2 separate regions of the Homo sapiens genome follow, and region 1 is linked to region 2. The links are contacts of gene promoters, found by promoter capture Hi-C in blood cells and fetal thymus (Javierre and others, 2016). All regions are on one chromosome and are shown on one strand. The core of a region is centred on a gene start or on the middle of the fragment in contact, and the rest is flanking DNA. Distances in the headings are between cores, read along the strand shown.

Region 1 (5,774 bases), core at 1,356-3,855, 310 kb before region 2:
AATGCGCTGGATGTTGTGAGGCCCATTATCCATAGTGTACACACGCCCGCAGCCCCTCCTTCTGATGGTTTAACTTGGAGCAATCCTCAATGGTTGTGCATAGCCAGATACACGCACTATGCACACAGGCACTGGGTTCTGGGTCACCTCCCTGGCATCCCAGGCCTCTGTCTGCTTCCTTCAGTGCTTCCTTCTTCAGCCGTCCCTCCCTGGATCCCAGCCACCTGAGCTCCATCCATCCCTGATTTCATTCCTTTTTTTTCCTCTTCCAGCTCTAGTCCACAGCCTTCCTCCCCAGGACATGTGATTCAAGCCTGAAGCATACAATGGGAGCACAAAGGAGGAGGGGACAGAGAAAAGAAATGAGCATCAGCCTTGGGAATGTCTCCTCTGACTGTAGAGTCAGGAGACATTAAGATAAACATTCACTGGAACATATACATTCTGGTAGATTCCGATGAGAATTAAGCCCATTCATTCATCTGGTAAATATCTAGTGAACATCTACCATGCATCAGGCAGAGAACTAGGTGCTGGGATTGTAGTGGGGAAGGCAACAGTTGTGACACCTGCCCTTATGGGCTCACAGTCTAGTGGGCTGGGGTGGGGACTAAGCCAGCCACAAATTGTAACATGAGCAGTGACGGAAACAAGGGCAGCTGAGACCCAATAGCCCAGGGAAGGAGTGGGCAAGGTCAACCCGGGGTCTCTGAAGGAAGATAAGGAGCTGGATGTTGGTGGAGCAGTTGGAAGCGGGAAGAGCTTCTAGAGAAGAAAATAGCACGTGTGAGGTCCCTGAGGCAGAAGGGAGAGTGACAGCAGGTAATGAGCCAGGTGTGGCCACAAGTGAGGCATCTGGACAGTATTGAATCCTGTAGACAATGGTCAAGGGCACTCTTAGGGGACTCAAAAACCATCCAAAAATTGTGAGTTGAAAGGTGTGATTTAATTTAGCTAGAAAACACCACTCAGCTGCAATGTGGAGAATGGGTTGGAGTGGGTTGGGGGAAACGGGGTTTGTTAATTATCTATACAGTAACAATATTAGCACAAACTTCTTAAAACACATTTGCCCGGGTGCAGTGGCTCATGCTTGTAATCCCAGCACCTTGAGAGGCTGAGGCAGGCAGATCACTTGAGGTCAGGAGTTCAAGACTAGCCTGGCCAATATGGTGAGACCCCATCTCTACTAAAAATACAAAAATTAGCTGAGTGTGGTGGTACACACCCATAATCCTACCTACTTGGGAGGCTGAGGCAGGAGAATCACTTGAACCTGGGAGGCGGAGGTTGCAGTGAACGAAGATGGCACCACTGCACTCCAGCCTAGGCGACAGAGTGAGACTCTGTCTCAAAACACACACACACACACGTACACACACACACGCACACACACACTTGCATGCACACATGCGCATGCACACACGCGCATGCACACACACACATATTTATGGCATTACAGCTTCTCGGAACCAGGCATCCAGCCTAGGCTTAGCCAGGAGCCTTGGCCTCAAGATCTCTCACAGGCTGCAATCAAGGTGCTGGCTGGGTCTATGGTCCCATCTGAGGCTTGTGAGGGAGAGAATTTGCTTCAAAGTTCATGTCATTGTTGGCAGAATTCAATTTCTTCTGCTTGTAGGACTGGGGGCCTCACTTTCTCGCTGGCTGTCACTGGAGGCCCTTGCAGGCTGTTGGCTGGAGCCTAGAGGCTTCCTGCAGCTCTCTGCCACTTGGAGTTTCCCAACACAGTCACACTGCAGCGGTGGTGGCATTATGGCTGAATCTTGAAAGATGAATAGGAGTTTCCCAGGGTGGAAGAACATTCAGACAAAGGGGAGACGTGACTGAAGGCATGGAACTGTGAAGGCAGGTGATGTTTTCAGGGAGCAGCAGATGTAGCCAGTCCCTTACCCAGAGCCATGTTCCCCTTTATTCCATGCTTCTAAGCCTGGGCTTGGCTCTGTTCTTTGCACCAATGACCATGTGCTCAGGCTGGAGTTTATCAGCCTTGGAAATGGAAGCTTGATTAATTCAAGCCAGCAAGCTCATGCAGTGCCTAGTGGTATAAGTAAGGCCTTCAGTGCCATTCTGGCCCATGAGGTGGGAGGGGGGTGCTCTTGGGAAAGGTTTTCCTCCCCAGTGAAAAGAGACATTCACGTAGAAGTTTCTATCTGTGGACATAGCTGTGTGAATCTGTGATACCTGGGAACCCACAAGCCATTTTGGGCCTATGTTGGAACCCACCTTGGCTCAAGCCAACTTACTGGGGTAAATCCTCAGTGACATCACTGGGCTTCTAGAGGAGCCAGCCCTGCAGACACCCACCTCTTTCTCCTGTCATATGATATAATCATCTTCCCCACTGGCTGAGCCCCTTGCAGCCAACCCTTGAAAACAGACTGTACAGTGTACAGTGACATGGCATGAAGTGATTCAAACTCATGAGCTGAAGCCAGCATGAAGATCTTTGTAGCCAGTGACACGGAGCTAGGCTGTTTCCTGAGAGGTCTGGAGAGTTCTCAATGATTTTCAGGGCAACAATGATCCCATATCTTGGCTAAACCTGGTGGCAGGATGCATCATAGTTTAGAAAATGGAGATCGTTGTGACAGGGAGGCCAGGGATGGCTGCACATCTAGAGATTCTGAGAACTCAAACTATTGCAGGTGTGATGGACACCAAAAGGAAGGGCCAAGGGACATGTAAGAGGCAGGAGTTAGAGGAGTTGGTGAGTGAAATGTCAGGAAGGAGGCAGAAGCCCAGGGTTCCCCAGTGCGAGAGATGGGGGACCAATGGCATTTGCCAGTCCAGAATACTCACATTCTTGGAAAACATCATCCATGTTCACACCTTGATTCCTTCACTGCTACTGTTCCCTTCGCAGGTAGGATCCTTCCACAGAAAATTCCCATTCACATAATCCCACATTATAGCATTGCTGCCGTGGGGAAGTCAGATTCCATTTACACTATTCAGACTTGCAGTCCCTCAGTCAGGAACACCAGCTCCAGGAGTGAGACGCACCTCTACGAACTGTATTTACGTTAACCCTCAGAACACCATCCCACATGACAAGCCACAGGGTGAGTAGAAGGCTGAATTACTTCAAATGTATTGGTTAATAACTTAGTCAAAAAATACAAAGCTGCAGTGTCTGTCACATTGGATCTATTTCTTGAAGACAAAGGCTAAGCTTCATTGCCGGCTCAGAAATGCACTGGAAACAATTCTTGTTGTTTCACTTCCTGGGGCTTATATTTCTTGCTGTTTGTAAAATATGGTATTAGATAACAAAGAAGAGTCTGGGTAGAAAAGGGTAGAGTCTACATTCCTCATGTTGAAAACCTGCTTAGGGTGATTTTCCCCTTACTGAACTCCTAAAATTACCAAAAAAAAATGTATTCAATTATTATATTTTGAATTTCATCAAGAAAAAATGTGTGGAAATTTGTTTTCTCTCTGTGCAATATTCTCAATTTTGCCTCTTAGCCCACAAAGCCTAAAATATTTACTATCTGGCCCTTCAGCAGACAAGGTGGCTGTCTTAGTCCATTTTGGCTGCTATAGCAAACTGCCATAAGCTGGGTGGCTTATAAACAACAGAACTTTATTCCTTACAGTTGTGGAAGCTGGGGAGTCCAAGATCAAGGCATGGGCAGGTTCAGTGTCTGGTGAGGGCCCAGTTCCTGGTCACAGAATGCATCTTCCTGCTGTGGCCTCACATGGTGGAAGGGGTGAGGGAGCTCTCTGGGGCCTCTTTTATGAGGGCACTAATCTCATTTACTAGGGCTCTGCCCTCATGGCCTAATCAACTCCCAATGTTCCCATCTCCCAATACTGTTGCTTTGGTGATTAGGTTTTAATGTATGTATTTTGAGGGGACACAAACTTTCAGTCCACACTGGTGACTGACTCCTGAGCTACAGCCATACCATTCAAAGTGTGGTCTGGCACTTCTCAAAAAAAGACATTTCTGTGGCCAACAAACACATGAAAAAAAGTTCATGATCACTTAGAGAAATGAAAATCAAAACCACAATGAGATACCATCTCATGCCAGTTAGAATGGCGATCATTAAAAAGTCACGAAACAACAGATGCTGGAGAGGATGTGGAGAAATAGGAACACTTTTACACTGTTGGTGGGACTGTAAACTAGTTCAACCATTGTGGAAGGCAGTGTGGTGATTCCTCAAAGATCTAGAACCAGAAATACCATTTGACCCAGCAATCCCATTACTGGGTATATACCCAAAGGATTATAAATCATTCTACCATAAAGACACATGCACATGTATGTTTATTGCAGCATGGTTCACAATAGCAAAGACTTGGAACCAACCCAAATGTCCAGCAATGATAGACTGGATAAAGAAAATGTGGCACATATACACCATGGAATACTATGCAGACATAAAAAAGGATGAGTTCATGTCCTTTGCAGGAACAGGGATGAAGTTGGAAACCATCATTCTCAGCAAACTAACACAGGAACAGAAAAACAAACACCACATGTTCTCACTCATAAGTGGGAGTTGAACAATGAGAACACATGGACACAGGGAGGGGAACATCACACCCCAGGGCCTGTCGGGGGTGGAGGGCAAGGGGAGGGATAGCATTAGGAGAAATACTTAATGTAGATGACGGGCTGATGGGTGCAGCAAACCACCATGGCACAGGTATTCCTATACCTATGTAACAAACCTGCACGTTCTGTACATGTATCCCAGAACTTAAGGTATAATTAAAACAAAAACAAAAACAAAAACTAAAAAGCAAAGTGTGGTCTGGGCACCAGCCGCATCCATATCCCCTGGGAGCTATTTAGAAATGTAAAACCTTAGGTCACACCCAGACCTCCTGGGTCACAACTGCATTTTGGCAAGCTTCCTGGATGATTCGTGTGCACCTACAGTTTAAGAAACACTTCACAGGAGTCCATGTGGAACCTCACAGGTGCTGTTGATAGTTTCATTAGGCACCAGGCTGGGACTGGCTCTGGGCACCACCATTCACTGTGTCCCAAGGTGGAAGCCCAGGCCTCTTGCACAGGGGTGCACTAAGGTATGCTGCTCCCCATCAAAAGATTGGCCCAAGCCCAGATCCTAAAGCCAATCTCTCTGGGGCATCTGTTTTCCCATCTGTATGACGGAGGGGTTGGAAAGGCTGATGTCAGAAGACCAGTATGGCTTTATCATGTGTTTGGTTTTTGTTTGAGGGGGATTGATAGGATGATTTCTGTCCATGTTCATGTTCATGTTCCAGAAACATGGTAGGTTGAGATGAAAAGGGCATGACAAGAACCACAGCAGCTTCCAGATGAGGCTAGTGTATGGAGATGTGAGATTCGGGATGTTTCATTTTACATAGATCATATTCTGTAAGGTTATTCTTCTAGTTCTATGTTTCTTTGCATCATAGGAAAAAGGAATCGGATCCAGGGAAAACGCTGTACCACTGGGGCCCGGGTGCCTTAAGTGGTTTTCTGATCAACTCCATAGAATCAGAATGTCAGGACTACAAGTCATCCGTGTCCCTGCAAAGGACATCTCATCTTCATTGATCATCCATGGTGCTGAGCATTTAAGAGGCACCAGGGATGTAACTTTGAATCAGAAGAGACCTGGTTCCTGCCCTTGTGGAGCTTACATTCCCGTGGGTGAGACAGATAAAGAGCAGTAGTTATAAGCAAAAGGGGGAAAGGAAGATGCGGGGGTAGGGAGTGGTTTGCAAGAGGAGTCAGGTCACACAGGGTTGGTGTGGGATGGGGC
Region 2 (5,816 bases), core at 2,444-4,943:
TCTAACAAAATACACCACCTTTCCTGGCCTTCCCACCTAAATGGGTTCCTGGAAATTGTTCTTGGCCAGTATGGGTTGGTGAGGGGCTAGCCAGGGAGCAGAGTCATGTTCGCAAAAGGTGGGCACTCATGAGAGTGGAAGAAGGGAAGTAAGTTCCTATGTCTAGAATAACACTCTCCTAGAAAACATTACATCTGGGGGATTTTTCATTTCTGTGCTTCTTATTTTCACTCGCCTATACTCTTGCACAGGATTGATTTCCAATGAAATTTGATAAGTGATATTTTGTTAAAATGTCCTGATTTTTTTTAATTATTAAATAGCTATAATCCCAGGCCTGAAAAATCCCTTATCCAGTAGCTACAGTTGTTTTTTGAAGCACCGCCACCAAAATTATTCCCCTGGTAATTATTGAGCAATCCGTTTTCACCCATAAGCCTGTCACATGTAATAAGGATGCCTGCCTGCCTGTTTATTTTCTGGCTAATTTGGTCCCTTTACATCATGTGACCTTCAGTGGCCTGTATGCAATATGAAAATCGTCCTCCTAGGACTTTCTTTAGAAGGTTCACAGAGGTGTGCTAAGCATAAGTAATACATCAGTTTTTAAATCCAGGCAGAGCGAACCCATATCAGATGTCTCAGGAAAGCCTGCAATGCTGTTTTATAAAGGGAACAGAAGAGTTTCTTGATCTTTGCTATTCTCTGCAAGAAAATATCTCACCTAAGTACATCCTTTCGTATGCACTCTGTAGCAGGACATTTACAGGGTCAGAGAAAAAGACACTAAAAACTTACCCAAGCTGTTAGCTCATATTTATTAACTGCTTAATATAGGCCAGGGTGCAAAGGCCTTTATATGCTTTGTTTAATCTTCCCCCAAACCCTGGGAGATTTTTATCCCAGTTCTGCAGATTAGCAGACTGAAACACAGAGAAGTTGTAACTTACCCAAGGTCACCTGGCTGTGGATGCCAGAGTAAGCATTTATTTTAATTGATACATAATAATCATACATATATAGGTACATAGTGATATTTTGATACATACAATACATAGTGATCCCATCAGGGTAATTAGCATATTTGTCATTTCAAACTTGTATCATTTCTTTGTTTTGGGGCATTCAATATCTTCTCTTCTAGGTATATGAAAATATACAATACATTATTGTAACTATAGTCATCCTATAGTGCTATAGAACACTAGAACTTATTCCTTCTATCCAGCTGTAATTTTGTATCCTTTAATAAATATTTTATCCTCTCTCCCCCGTACACTTCCCAGCCTCTAGTATTCTCTGTTCTACTTTTTACTTCTTTGAGATCAGCTTTTTTAGCTTCTGTGTATGAGTGAGAACATGCGGTGTTTAACTTTCTGTTCCTGGCTTATTTCACTTAACATAATGTCCTCCAGGCTCATTCCTGTTGCTGAGAATGACAGAATTTCATTCTTACTTATGGATGAATGGGATTCCTTTATGTATATATACCACATTTTCTTTATCCATTCATCTGTTGTTGAATACTTGGGTTGATCCATATCTTGGCTATTGTGAACAATGTGGCAATAAACATGGTGGTAGATATCTCTTTGACATACTGATTTCCGTTCCTTTGCATAAACGCCCAGTCATGGGAATACTGGATCTTATAATAGTTCAGTTTGTAGTTTTTTTCAGGTACCTCTGTACTGTTCTCCATAGTGGCTGTACTAGAATGCATTCCCACCAACAGTGTATACGAGTTCCCTTTTCTCTGCATCCTTGCCAGCATTTGTTATTTTTTGTGTTTTTGATAATACCCAGAGTATGCTTTTGAAGTCAGGTCTTTCTGGCTCCACAGTCTGAAGGTGTAACACTACCCCAGGCTGCCTCTCCATAGCATGTTTCCTGATTTCTGGTTCAAGAAGACTTTTTCTAACAGGTGTCATTCCTAGATGGCTCTCTTAAGATCTTACTCCCTTTGGCATTTTACACCTTACTCATACAATCATTTTTAAAAAATAGCAATTTAAAAAAATACAGTTCAAGTGTTCATCATATCCAGGCATGCAAGCCTTTTCTAAATTTTTTTAAATAATAAAAAAGCCCCACAGAGGAAAGGAGGTTATTTGTGTCCTCCTGACACACACTTTTAGATTTTGGTTAAAAAGTCTCTAGTGGGTGCAAAGTGACCCCCTTTGTCACTGGAAACAAATAGGAGCATTCTTTGTGCCACTGTCCACAACCACACAGATATGTTTCCCAAGGGAGCTCATCAGGTCTTCAAACATTTAGCAAGCATGACATGTGTAAGAGACAGTATTGGAGAAGTAAGACAAGCCTTGCTCTGCCGAAGCTTACAATCCAGGAGCTCACCCCTTCAAGGAATTTACAGCCTCCAGACAGATAATAACATTAGGTCCATGAAAGCCTACAAGGCAAGAAGTTCAGGAGAGAAAGAAGTCATAACCATCTTGGAAGAATCTCAACTTGTTTTATCAGAACTCAAACGCCAATTTCTCACCCCTAGCTTCCCTCATTAGTGCTTATTAACTAGTATTGGGAGGACCAAGCGAAGAGTAAAGCTAGGGTAGCAGAGGCCATAAGCTAATTGCAAAGGACAGAGCTAAAGAAACATGCTAGTTTCCCCTGAGCACCCAACTGCATGACTGAAAATGGATTAATTTGTATTTCTAATGGATATACAAGAAACACGTGAATATGCTAAAATAAATTTAAGGTCAAGCAATGCAAAGTGTTAGTGCGTTTGCCTTCCACTCTCAGAGGCAGCCTCTATTATTTGGTTCTTGGGCTGCTTCATAAAAAGTTCTGTGTTTTTTAATGGCCTCAGCTTTTGGGAGGCTCAGGCCACCTAGCCCATCAGGAGACCAGGCCCGAAGGATGGATCTGAAGAGTGGGCAACGGAGAGTTAAACCAGGGCTGACTTCAACAGGCCCAGTCAAGTCAGGGGCAAGCACATTGTCCATCCACTGGAAGACGGAAAGGGGAGAGGAAGGCAGGCCCTCCCGACTCACAGGTCACCTCGCAACTTTGCTAGGCACTACCCACCCTTTAGGGATAAGTGAAGTATGTGGTGGGCATACAAGGCGCACAGGGGAGTCATTCTGGCAAATTCCAAGAAGGTTTTAAGGGCTCCCGAGGCAGGCAGGCCCAGTTGCTGTTTGGAGCTTCCTTTGGGGTGGGAGGATGGCGGGGGCAGGGGGCCGGGGCGGTGCCTTAACGAGGGGAGATGCTTTTAAATAGCTGCCTTCCAAAAACCATCCTCCCTGCTTCTTTGAGAAGCACCCAGCTGTTGTTTACCCTCCAGGACAGCAAATCCGGTTATTTGTCTCTCTATTCCGTGATATTATAAAGTAATGAATGGTCCATTAAACTAAGTTTGGGATCCCGTCTCCCCACAGCCACCTCCTCGCCGGCACCCTCAGCCGGGGAGGCCGTAGGCTCGGGCTGCAGCCTGGCAGCCTCAGTCCCCCTCCCTCCACCATTTCCCTCTACTCCCTCCCTCTCCTGCACCCCCTCCCCCCGGTTATTTGGGAGATTAGAGTTCATTAATTAAATCCTGTGCTTAGATCGAACTGTAACATTATTCCAATCACATTTATCTTGCAGGCGGCGGAGGAGATGGCAGCCTCGCTGGAAACGCGCGGGGGAGCCTGAGCCGGCGGCCGGGGACGCACGGCGCTGCGCGCTCCTTCGCCACGCCGCCGCGCAGCCCCTCCATCTTCCTGCTCGGCACCGGGCCCCGCGCGCCCCTGCCTACGGGGTCCCGCTGCTCTCCGGGGCTCCTGCCAGCCCCAACCCCCGGCCCCGGTGGCCTCCCCCCACCCCCGCCCGGGTCCCCCTCCTCCGCCACACGCGCGCGCGCTCACACACACACACACACACACACACACACACACACACATATATACACGCCAGCGAGCTGCTGGCCGCTCAATGGACCGATTTCCCCGGTTTCCCTGAACCCAGCCCAGCCCGGGATGAGAAACTGCAAAATGGCCCGGGTCGCCAGTGTGCTGGGGCTGGTCATGCTCAGCGTCGCCCTGCTGATTTTATCGCTCATCAGCTACGTGTCCCTGAAAAAGGAGAACATCTTCACCACTCCCAAGTACGCCAGCCCGGGGGCGCCCCGAATGTACATGTTCCACGCGGGATTCCGGTGAGTGCGGGCCTCTGTGTTAGTGCCCTCGGGAATTTGGTTGATGGGGTGTTTGGGGAAGGGAAGGCGTGGGGGAGGGGTGTTTTGGCCTCTCCGAGACTCTTTGGGCCAGATAACTGCGCGGTCCTTCCACTCCTCTCTCTAATTCTCCCTTCCCCCTCCCTGTTATTTTTTTTTTAACCCAAAGCCCCTAGAAGCCGCTGTCCAAATCGATGTGATTGCATTTCTCGTATTCTTCCTCAGCATCCCTTCCCTCATTTCAGAAATGGGGGTTGGGGGAGGCTTTCAGGAGGGTGAGGGTGGAGGGAAAGACGGTGTGTTTGTTCGGGAGGGGGCGGCGAGCAGAGATGGACAGGCGTGAGGGGAGCGCCCTCCCCGCGCCCTGTCCGCAGACTCCGCGGGCCGGGCCCGGGGCGGTGCTGGCGGTTTAATGGCGCAGGCGCCGGACTCCCCTCGCGCCCTCCTCCTTTACTCCCCCACGCCTATCAAAGGACACGCGGGTTTATTCTCAGGAAGCCCCTGGGGCGTTCTCTCTCAACCCTTTCCCCCGCAGCCACCGCCCCCCACCAGCTTTCCGGGATTTCTGCAATTCCCCCGCCCCCTGCGGGAAGCGAGCCTCGGAAGGGCCGCCCACCCTCGCCAGGTCGGAGTCACCGCTCCGCGCTGGGCCGGCCTGTGAAGGCTCCAGGCGCAGCTTGACGCCGCTCTGCGAGAGCCCCCGCCCCGCTCTGTGACCCCGGGAACTCTCCCAGCAGGGCCTCCTGACGGGCAGGTGGCAACTACAAAGTGCCACCTGTGGTCCAAGCTGGGACCGAGGCGAGGAACCCAGAGGAGCCTCGCCTGGACCGAGGAGCGGAGTAGGCCGGCGGCCCCCGGGGGTCCCCAGCCAAGTTATAGGAAGTGAAATCGGACGTGGGTTTGGGAAGGAAGAGGTTAAGGCAGGAACCACCCCCAGACTTTCCCTGGGTCTCCGGTTTCCTCTGCCCTTTCTCCAAAAACAATTCTATGGGGCTGCAAAGGCGTAGCGGGTCAGGCTGGCGGGGCGGCCGCTGTCCGCGGTGCTGATTCCCTGGTCCTCGCAGCGCCGCGGGCTCCAGCCCTGCGCCCGGCGTGCGCCCTGCTCTCCGCATGACGGCCATTTTATGGTCTCTCCGGCACCCGGAGGGATGGACAATGCAGATGGGGTTCCCTAGTTTTCTTTTTTTCTCTCGGGTGTGTGTGGGAGCAGAGGGTGGACCAAATGAGAGGGGCTCCGGGACGGAACGGAGCCCGCACGCGTACCAGCCGCCCTCGCCCCAGCCGCTGCACTTTAATGGCTACCTCGGCTTCCCCGAGCTGAGGCCAGCACGCTTGTCTGTGCTCATGCTCCTCTCCAGGTCACAATTTGCGCTGAAGTTTCTAGACCCGTCATTCGTGCCCATTACGAATTCTCTCACCCAGGAACTCCAAGAGAAACCTTCTAAGTGGAAATTTAATCGGACAGCGTTTTTACATCAAAGGTAGGATAGGAGGAAAAGATCCAAAAGGTGCTTTTAAGAATTCAAGAGCTCAAAACAAAACAAAACAAAAACAAGCAAACAAAAACATCTAAAACAACAAACATCTATACGCCCCACCCTCACCATCAGGTGTATCTGCATTGTTTTCTTGGCAT

The links. Contacts are between HindIII fragments. The CHiCAGO score rates a contact against its expected background, and 5 or more counts as called.
Region 1: a fragment that was not itself captured here is called in contact with the fragment with the promoter of ST8SIA3 in region 2 in 1 of 17 cell types (endothelial precursors); the score reaches 5.2 in endothelial precursors.

The regions. Positions count from the first base shown.
Region 1 is chr18:57,038,536-57,044,309 of GRCh38, forward strand. WDR7-OT1 (WDR7 overlapping transcript 1) reads left to right here and starts at 1,444. Exons shown (of 3, transcript XR_001753461.2): 1 at 1,444-3,083; 2 at 5,425-5,662. The HindIII fragment of the contact is 1,172 bases long and covers 2,020-3,191 here.
Region 2 is chr18:57,348,864-57,354,679 of GRCh38, forward strand. ST8SIA3 (ST8 alpha-N-acetyl-neuraminide alpha-2,8-sialyltransferase 3) reads left to right here and starts at 3,694. Exons shown (of 4, transcript NM_015879.3): 1 at 3,694-4,162; 2 at 5,539-5,661. The coding sequence starts at 3,984. The HindIII fragment of the contact is 6,120 bases long and covers 2,337-5,816 here.